Linked DNA regions of Homo sapiens: regions 2 and 3 are each linked to region 1. Evidence: promoter capture Hi-C in human tissues and cell types (Jung and others, 2019). All regions are on one chromosome and are shown on one strand. The core of a region is centred on a gene start or on the middle of the fragment in contact, and the rest is flanking DNA. Distances in the headings are between cores, read along the strand shown. Region 1 holds the start of HUNK (hormonally up-regulated Neu-associated kinase). Region 2 overlaps CFAP298-TCP10L (CFAP298-TCP10L readthrough). Region 3 overlaps EVA1C (eva-1 homolog C).

Region 1 (2,922 bases), core at 188-2,687:
TGCCTCGGCCTCCCAAAGTGCTAGGATTACAGGCGTGAGCCACCGCGCCCGGCCTCAGAGTGGTTTTTACCCCAAAGTGAGCTCCATATTCCTCATTCTTTAGACAGTTGCTGGACATCTATTCTGCTGGCACCACGCTAGTTACCATTCCCCTCCCATGCAACTGTCCTGTTAAGATTTGATTACTGAATTAGAGACATTAAAAGGATTGAATGAACGTTACTGAAATAGTCAAGGCCGGTGGGAGCAAAGAAGTCCCTTCAGCACAGCAAGAAAAACATTTTAAGCTGTATCTTTAATATTGGTAAACGGGAACAATGAGACAGAACAACAGAAAACGCAGTATGTTCCGTCATAATAACTGAGGCTGGTGACTTGTAACAGGTAGGTGGATGAATATAGTAGCGTATTTAAAATTAGATGTATTGAAAGCAGGCATTTCTCTGCGTCCCTCTTCAGATGGGTCAGCGAGACCCCCAGACACTGGATTGATGACAGCTGTTGTTCCCCCACCCCCCACTCCCAATCTCAAAGCATTGCTATGGGTCGATGTCATACTTGTTTACTCAGGAATAAACAATGAAAGGAACTTTGTTAGGACCAAATCCTTCCTTTCAGCTCTGATGTTGCATGATCGGGGTGAAGTTTCCATCAAATGCGGGCACCTCAACAGGTAGCATTTTGTAAATGCCTCCTCCTACCTACCCTCCTCCTTCTCCCTCACAAGATTCTTCATTTTCGGTTTGAGAAGACGTTGGGGATCCTGGGAGAGGGTCCAGTGTCGTCAGGGCAGTTGCAATTGTTTATGCGATGAGCACAGTCACAGCGCTTGCAGAACAAAAGCATCGAAGAGAGGCGAGCGCCGGTCCACCTCCTGCAATCACAGGCATCATTTCAATGGAAGGCAAAGAAGGTGTAAGCTACAAGCAGAGGCAGCAAACGCCCTGGTTCCTACATTGCTGCTGCTACTATTACTGCTGTGGCTGCGCCTCCTCCAACACAGCCAACCAGGCTGCGTGCGAGCCCGGGCAGACGCCTGGCCGCCTCCCCACCCTTTCTTCCAGCCATCCATCTATCCTTCCACCCCCGGTCCAGGGGGCCCTACTGTGTGGCGGACTCAGGGCCGGGCACGCAACCCGACTCACAGTCCACGGAGTTCGAGAGCCTTCCCCCTTCCCCCCGCCCCGGGTGGGTGCGGCCAGTGGGGGATTTCACCGCCGAAAGGTCCAGAAAACCCAAGCCCAGAATCCGGGCAAGAGGCGCAGCCGGAGGCGGCCCGACCTGGGCGGCCCGGGAGCGCGCGCCTCCGAGGCCGCGCAGGTTCTCCCTGTCTGGCGCTCAGGTGGCTTCTCCGTCCACTCCGCCGCTCCCCTCCCCGGGCCCTCCCCTCTCCAGCGAGGGTCGAGTTTGACTGTGGCGCGCGGGGAAGGAGGGGCTACTAGGGATTTGAAAGTGCACGGGCTGCGGAGTGGAGCTCGCATCTGTTCCCGCCGCCCGCGAGCGGATTAAATTTCTGCAAATTCAAACTGAATGGGGCTTTCTTCTGCTGCCTTCCAGAGGGCGCCGGCAGCCCGCCGCGCGCTTCTCTCCGGCGGGAGCGGCCGCCCAGCGCACGGCTAGGAGCGATCGCGGGAGCCCGACCCAAGCCCGTGCGGGCCAGACGGCGGCGGCGAGGCGGAGGCTGCGGAGGCACCCGGGCTCCCGGACCCAGGCACCCGGACCCCGGGACCCAGGCGCCGCCGGACCGCGCCCCACCCCGCGCGCCCGAGCAGGGCGACTGTCATTAGCTTCCTGGACGGGACCCGGGGCGGGATCCTGGTGTCCTGAAAGGGGCCCGGGCGACCCTAAGAGGAAGAACTTTTGGGGGCGGGGTCCCCGGTCCCGCGTCCCCTGGGCAGCCGCTATTGTCTACGCGCCTCGCTGGGCGGCGCGGGGGGCGTGATCGCGGCGGCCCCGGGCTCTGGGTGCGGAGACCCAGGCGGGGCTGGGCCCAGGGCGGCGGCGGGAGAAGCCGGGGAAGCCGAAGAGCCTGGGGAGGAGGAGCTGCGAGCGCGGGAGACGAGCAGGAGCCGCGCGGGCCGCGGCGAGCGCGATGCCGGCGGCGGCGGGGGACGGGCTCCTGGGGGAGCCGGCGGCGCCTGGGGGCGGCGGCGGCGCGGAGGACGCGGCCAGGCCCGCGGCGGCCTGCGAGGGAAGTTTCCTGCCTGCCTGGGTGAGCGGCGTGCCCCGCGAGCGGCTCCGCGACTTCCAGCACCACAAGCGCGTGGGCAACTACCTCATCGGCAGCAGGAAGCTGGGCGAGGGCTCCTTTGCCAAGGTGCGCGAGGGGCTGCACGTGCTGACCGGGGAGAAGGTGAGTCTCCCGGGCGCCGTGGGGCTGGGGCACAGGGGCGGGAGTCGGCGGCCAGGACCCCGCGGGGAGCACTGCACTGGGAGTCCCAGTGTGCAGTCCCGGGCCAAGCGCCTTCCCCCTCCGCCCGGCTTTCCTGTTGGGTTAAAACGCGCGCTCAGCATCTCGCAGCCTTTCCCGAAGGCGGCCTGCGGTCCGCTGCCCGGGGGTTGGGGGCTTGGGAGGGGACGGCCTTGCCCCGGGAAGCGTCCCGCGCGGCCGTTCTGCTCGTGGAAGGGCGCCGCCTGGCGACACTAGCGCGGGGGGCGGGATGGGGCCCCTCTGCCCTTCAGGCCGGCAGGGGCGGCGGATCCGTGGCGAGGCGGGAACCAGGGCTAGAGGAGGTGGGCTCTTATGTCGGGGGGCGGGGGGGGCAGGAAAGCTAACAGCCAGCCTCTGGGGGGAGCTTAGAGTCTGATCCCCGTCCTGGGCTCTCGGAGGAGGTGGGAGAAGGCTGAGATCCTGCATTCCTTCCCACCTGTGGGCTCCGGCAGCTAGGGAATGTTTTTTGGCAGCTAGGGAATTTTTCGTGC
Region 2 (2,922 bases), core at 116-2,615, 690 kb after region 1:
GTTTAATTTAGCAAAGAACAATTTGTGAATCAGACAGCCTCCTGAGCCAGAGTAGGCTCAGAGACTCTAGCGCAGCCACGTGGTAGAAGACTTACAGGCAGAAAAAGGAAAGTGACGTGCAGAAAACAGATGTGAGGTACAGAAACAACCAAATTGGTTGCAGCTCGGCAGGCATTTGCCTTATTTGAACATAGTTTGAACAGTTAGCCCTTGATTGGCCAAAACTTGGTGATTGGCACAAAAGTAGGCTTCAGTCTGTTTACATCTTCATTTAGGTTAAAGTTCACTATGTACAGAGAAGCCTTTAGGCTGAACTTAAAATACGTTAAAAGGCAGCTTTAGTCTAAACTTGATTTAACAATATAAAGAATTGAGGCAAAGAGAATTTCATAACTTGCTCAAGATCACAGAGAAATGAGAAACTTAGAATAACTCTCAAGTACTCGGACTCCAGACTGGATGCTGTTAACCTCCCCTAGACTCTCATGTCTATATTGCTTTTGGCCTATAACTTTTTCATGTGTGTGCATGAAATTGTGAACTTCTTTTCAGTGATAGTCTTGTGTTCTTATTTTATTACACTTTTTAGTTCTTCTTGAATATGGCTGCACCACTCTGAACACGCCTGATCTTGTCTGATCTCATGAAGCTAAGCAGGGTCAGGCCTGGTTAGTATTTGGATGGGAGGAATAGATCTTGAATTTTATAAATAGCACTCAGACATCTATTTTTATGCTTATTTTTAAATGTCTTGATAAAATGTTTGACTACTATTACATTCTTGGGAAAAATCTCCCTTTTTTGTGTTACACTTTTAATAATCACTAGATTTTGTTTGCTAAAATGTTATTTAGAATTTTTCATGTATTTTTCACTGGACTGTGATTTTTCTTTTTATATAACATCTTTTTTAAGGGTCTTTGTTAATATTACACTCAAGTTTTCTTGTTTTCTTTGCCCTGAATTCAAGCAGTTAAAAATCCATGGGAAATAGTTTTCCTTGACATTTTCTTTTTTTTTTTTTTTTTTGAGACAGAGTCTCGCTCTGTCACCCAGGCTGGAGTGCAGTGGCGTGATCTCGCCTCACTGCAACCTCTGCCTCCTGGGTTCATGCCATTATCCTGCCTCAGTCTCCTGAGTAGCTGGGACTACAGGTGCCCGCCACCACGCCTGGCTAATTTTTTATTTTTTGTATTTTTAGTAGAGACAGGGTTTCACTATGTTAGCCAGGATGGTCTCGATCTCCTGACCTCGTGATCTGCCTGCCTTGGCCTCCCAAAGTGCTGGGATTACAGGTGTGAGCCACTGCGCCCGGCCTTTTCCTTGACATTTTCAAAGAACTATGCATGTAATATTATAGTGACTGTTCACCCAGCCCCTTGCCCTAAAGCCTGGTAACATGATTAACTCATGATTCCTGGATAAATGCTATGTTCTCATTCCTCCATTTTTATCTATACGTAAGGCTCTTGGCTTTGAATTTTATTTCTATCTCTTTGTTTGGTTAAGTTCATCTTGGTAAAACATTAGCTCTCCCCGCATTTGTTCTCAGTTCTATGATGTAGAGTTGATAAACTTTCCCAGTAGGACAGACACATATTTTGCCCAATGTGTGTTCTCTGTAAATGCAGGTGAGGAAGGAGGGGTAATTAGAGGAAACAGAATTAGAATCTCTAGGGATTTGAGCCCTTAAACAATTCTACGATAAACTACAATTTATACAATATTTTCTGAGTCATGTAGTTTTGTGTTGGATTGCTTTCGGTCTGGTAGAATTCAGCTGGGAAACCAACTGGTCCAGGGCTTTTTTGGTTGGTAGGTTTTTCATTACTGATTCCATTTCAGAAGTTGATATTGGTCTATTCACGTTAACAGTCTTTTCCTGATTCAATCTTGGAAAATCGTGTGCTTACAGGAAAGTATCCATTTCCTCTAGATTTTCTAATTTGTGTGCTTAGAGTTATTCATAATAGTTTCTGAAGGTCTTTTGTATTTCTGTGGGACCAGTTATGATACTGATAAAAAAAAAAACCACCTTTTTCATTTCTGATTGTGCTTTCTTGGATCTTCTCTTTCTTTTTCTTTGTTAAACTGGCTAGTGGCCTATCGATTTTATTTTTTTGAAAAACCAAGTCTTGGTTTTATTGATCTTTTGTATGGATTTTTACATGTCAATTTCATTAAGTTCTTCTCTAATTTCAGTGGTTTTTCTTCTGCTAGTTTTGGATTTTCTCCTCCCTAGTTCCTTTCCCTTAGTTGACCTAGTTTCTTCCTTTCCAAAGATAGATTGTTAATTTGAGATTTTTTTAACTTCTTGATGAAGACATTTAGGGCTATAAACTTTCCTCTTAACACTGCCTTGGCTGCATCCAGAGATTTTGGTAAGTTGTGTCCCTATTTTCATTAATTTCAAACGATTTTTTTGATTTCTGCCTCAATTTTGATGTTGACCCAGGAGTTATGCTAGAGTAAGTTAGTTAATTTCATGTATTTGTATAGTTTGAGGCAATCTTGATATTGATTTCTACTATTATTGTACTGTGATTCAAGAATGTGCTTTGGTATGACTTCAATCATTTTGAATTTATTGAGACTTTTTATGATCAAGCATGTGGTTGATCTTAGAATACATTCTGTGTGCAGACAAGAAAAATGTATATTTTTTGGTTGTTGGGTGTAGTGTCCTGTAGCTGTCTGAGATCCAGTTGGTCAAGTGTCAAGTTTAAATCCAGAGTTTCATTGTTAACTTTCTGCCCTGATGATCTAACGCTGTCAGTAGGATGTTCAAGCCTCCCACTAGTATTTTGTGTTTGTCTAAGGTTTTTCGTTGGCCAAGAAGAACTTATTTTATGAATCTGGGTGCTCCAATGTTGGGTGCATATATATTTAGAACAGTTAGGGCTTCTTGTTGGATTGTACCCT
Region 3 (2,922 bases), core at 193-2,692, 590 kb after region 1:
GGGTGGTGTCCACACCCCCTCCAGGGTATTTCTCAACCTTCCTTCACCCAGCAAGCATTCCTGAGATCTTCACACAGCTGGTTCCTTCTCCTTGTGTAATTTCCACCCCAAACAGCACCTTTCAAGAGAGGCTTTCTCTGTCCAAAAAACAACAACAAAAAACATCTTCCTCTCATCCTGCCACCCCTCTCTATCACAGCATCCTATTTTTTCTTCATAGCAGCATCATCGTTTAGATTTACCTTATTTGTGGCTTGTGTATGATTTGCACACACACTGCATCAGACTGTGAGCATGATGAGAGCAGGAACTCTGTGTGGTTCAGCATTGTTACCCCAGAGGAACAGGTGCTTAATATGTATTCACAGAGCAAATGTTCACCCAGCAGGGGCCAGGTCCTGTGCTCAGCATTGGGGAGACACAGGTGAGCACGTCCTCGGTAACCAGATCATCCAGTCCCGTGGGGCCTGATATTCACTGTGAGTTTCACACAAATATGTGCAAGATTCCAGGTAGGGTCAGGGCTTCATGGAGAGGCACTTGGTACTACGCAAGCAGCTCACAGAAGAATCTTTTTTTTGGATAGGGTCTCACTCCATTGCCCAGGCTGGAGTGTAGTGGCTCAATCTTGGCTCACTGCAACCTCTGCCTCCCGGTTTCAAGCGATTCTCCTGCCTCAGCCTCCTGAGTAACTGGGATTATAGGCATACACCACCACACCTGGCTAATTTTTGTATTTTTAGTAGAGACAGGGTTTCACCATGTTGGCCAGGCTGGTCTTGAACTCCTGACCTCAAGTGATCTGCCCGCATTGGCCTCCCAAAGTGCTAGGATCACAGGCGTGAACCACAGTGCCCAGCCTCATAGGAGGAATTGACCTTGACTAGGGGTTCAGTGGAGTCTTTTTGGAGCAAGTGATGATGGAGCTGAGAACTGCAGGGATGGAGGGCACAGAAAGAGTGCTCCATACGGAAGCCTGTGGCTGCGGGTTGCAGGTGCATTGGCGCAGCCAGCCACAGGGTAGGAGCACAGCACCAAGACAGGAGAGAGCACCAGCTGGGGAGCCGGAGTAGGGATCCTGAGTCCTCAGAGCCAAGGAAGGAGTTGGGGCTCTATCTATAGGGCAGCATTTAAGCAGGGAGGGTGCTGTGATGAAGTCATAAAGCCCCTCTGGCTGCCCCATAGAGAGCAGATGAGAGACAGAGCCCCTGTGTAACCTGAACACCAGAAACCTGAGCACTGCCATTTAGGAGGTGGAAGTGAGATTGTCTCCACACCTTCCTGCCTCTTTTTCTGCATCTCTCACACCTCCTGAGGCTCTTCTTCTCAATTCCCAGTTCCAGTCTGAGCAGGACACTGTGATTGTCCAAAGGCTGCACTGCTGCACCCTGTGGTGTGCAGAGCCAGTTCTTATGATGAGAGCCAGTTATGCACATGTCTTACCAGCTCTGCCTGTGTTCTGTGGCATCTGCCACGGTGGGAGTATTTACACCAGGGAAATGGGCAAATGCCACTGATCGGGTTTATTTGTTTGTCTTTACGGAAAGCTATTTTACCAGCAAGGCTCACCGGAACCTTCTTTTCCCTAATGTGCACTATGCTTCCTTCCTCAAAATCTCACCTCCCAAATTGCATCCCTTCAGGAAATGTAGGTTTCAGCGAGGCTTGGATTTAGGCAGTTCTGGGTTCATATTCCTTTCTGCTGCATATCGTATCTGCTGTGTGTTGGGCAGTGTAGGGACACTTTCTAGGACTCAGTTGTAACATGGGATTATGTCTCTTCTGCATAGGGCTGTTTTAAGACTGTGAAAACACAGTGTTGTATGTAACACGCTAGCACAGGACCATGGAGTTGAGCTCAGCAGTTGGTAGCTATTATTTCAATAAGCTGATTCAAATCACTCTGCTAAAGATATGAATGACTAAAGGATATAGTCATGCCTGTCATTTCAGCATTTTGGGAGGCCAAGGCAGGAGAATCATTTGAGGCCAGTCATTAGAGACTAGCCTGGGTAACATAGGGAGACCCCTATCTCTAAAAAAAAAAAAAAAAAAAACAATTAGCAGGGCATCATGGCAGGCACCTGCAGTCCTAGCCACTTGGGAGGCTGAAGTGGGAGGATTGCTTGAGCCCAGGAGTTTGAGGTTACAGTGAGCTATGAGCTCACCACTGCACTCCAACCTATATGACAGGGTGAGATTTATTTACTAAATAAAGAAATAATAAAAATAAATAAAAGTGACTATCTACATTTCAGCATCACTATGCACTGGCAATTGTATGCAATGTCAGTAATAAAATACTCCCATCGCGGCAGATCCTTCCTCTGCCCACCTTTGAAAGGTGGCTAGTGATGTGTTGGGAACAGGCACCCCAAAATCTGGCCATAAACTGGCCCCAAAACTGGCCATAAAGAAAATCTCTGCCACACTGTGACATGTTCGTGATGGCCATGATGCCCATGCTGGAAGGTTGTGGGTTTACTGGAATGAGGGCAAGGAACACCTGGCCCACCCAGAGTGGAAAACCACTTAAAGGAGTTCTTAAACCACAAACAGTAGCATGAGTGATCTGTGCCTTAAGGATGTGCTCCTGCTGCAGGTAACTAGCCAGAGCCCATCCCTCTGCTTCGGCCCATCCCTTTATTTCCCATAAGGAATAGTTTTAGTTAATCTATAATCTATAGAAACAATGCTTATCACTGGCTTGCTGTGATGATTTATGTGGGTAAATCTCTGTTCGAGGCTCTCAGCTCTGGAGGCTGTGAGACCCCTGATTTCCCACTCCACACCTCTATATTTCTGTGTGTGTGTCTTTAATTCTTCTAGCGCCACTGGTTTAGGGTCTCCCCGACCGAGCTGGTCTCGGCAGTGATGTGCTTTTGTGACTGTTGTATCGAAAAGAAGCAGAATGACCCACAT

What was found. Contacts are between HindIII fragments. The study calls those that stand out against the background at their distance.
Region 2: a contact is called between a fragment that was not itself captured here and the fragment with the promoter of HUNK in region 1, in 1 of the 25 tissues and cell types used here (mesenchymal stem cells).
Region 3: a contact is called between a fragment that was not itself captured here and the fragment with the promoter of HUNK in region 1, in 1 of the 25 tissues and cell types used here (thymus).

Annotation. Positions count from the first base shown.
Region 1 is chr21:31,871,583-31,874,504 of GRCh38, forward strand. HUNK (hormonally up-regulated Neu-associated kinase) reads left to right here and starts at 1,438. Exons shown (of 11, transcript NM_014586.2): 1 at 1,438-2,353. The coding sequence starts at 2,093. RefSeq lists silencers at 1,556-1,605, 2,532-2,711. The HindIII fragment of the contact is 17,092 bases long and covers 1-2,922 here.
Region 2 is chr21:32,562,478-32,565,399 of GRCh38, forward strand. CFAP298-TCP10L (CFAP298-TCP10L readthrough) reads right to left here. Exons shown (of 12, transcript NR_146639.2): 12 at 1,015-2,922. It also overlaps the pseudogene RNA5SP490. Among named protein-coding and RNA genes, the nearest start is that of TCP10L, 22 kb to the right of the region's middle. RefSeq lists an enhancer at 1-435. The HindIII fragment of the contact is 4,954 bases long and covers 1-2,922 here.
Region 3 is chr21:32,460,185-32,463,106 of GRCh38, forward strand. The region is part of intron 3 of EVA1C (eva-1 homolog C); the gene reads left to right. Among named protein-coding and RNA genes, the nearest start is that of EVA1C, 49 kb to the left of the region's middle. The HindIII fragment of the contact is 7,847 bases long and covers 1-2,922 here.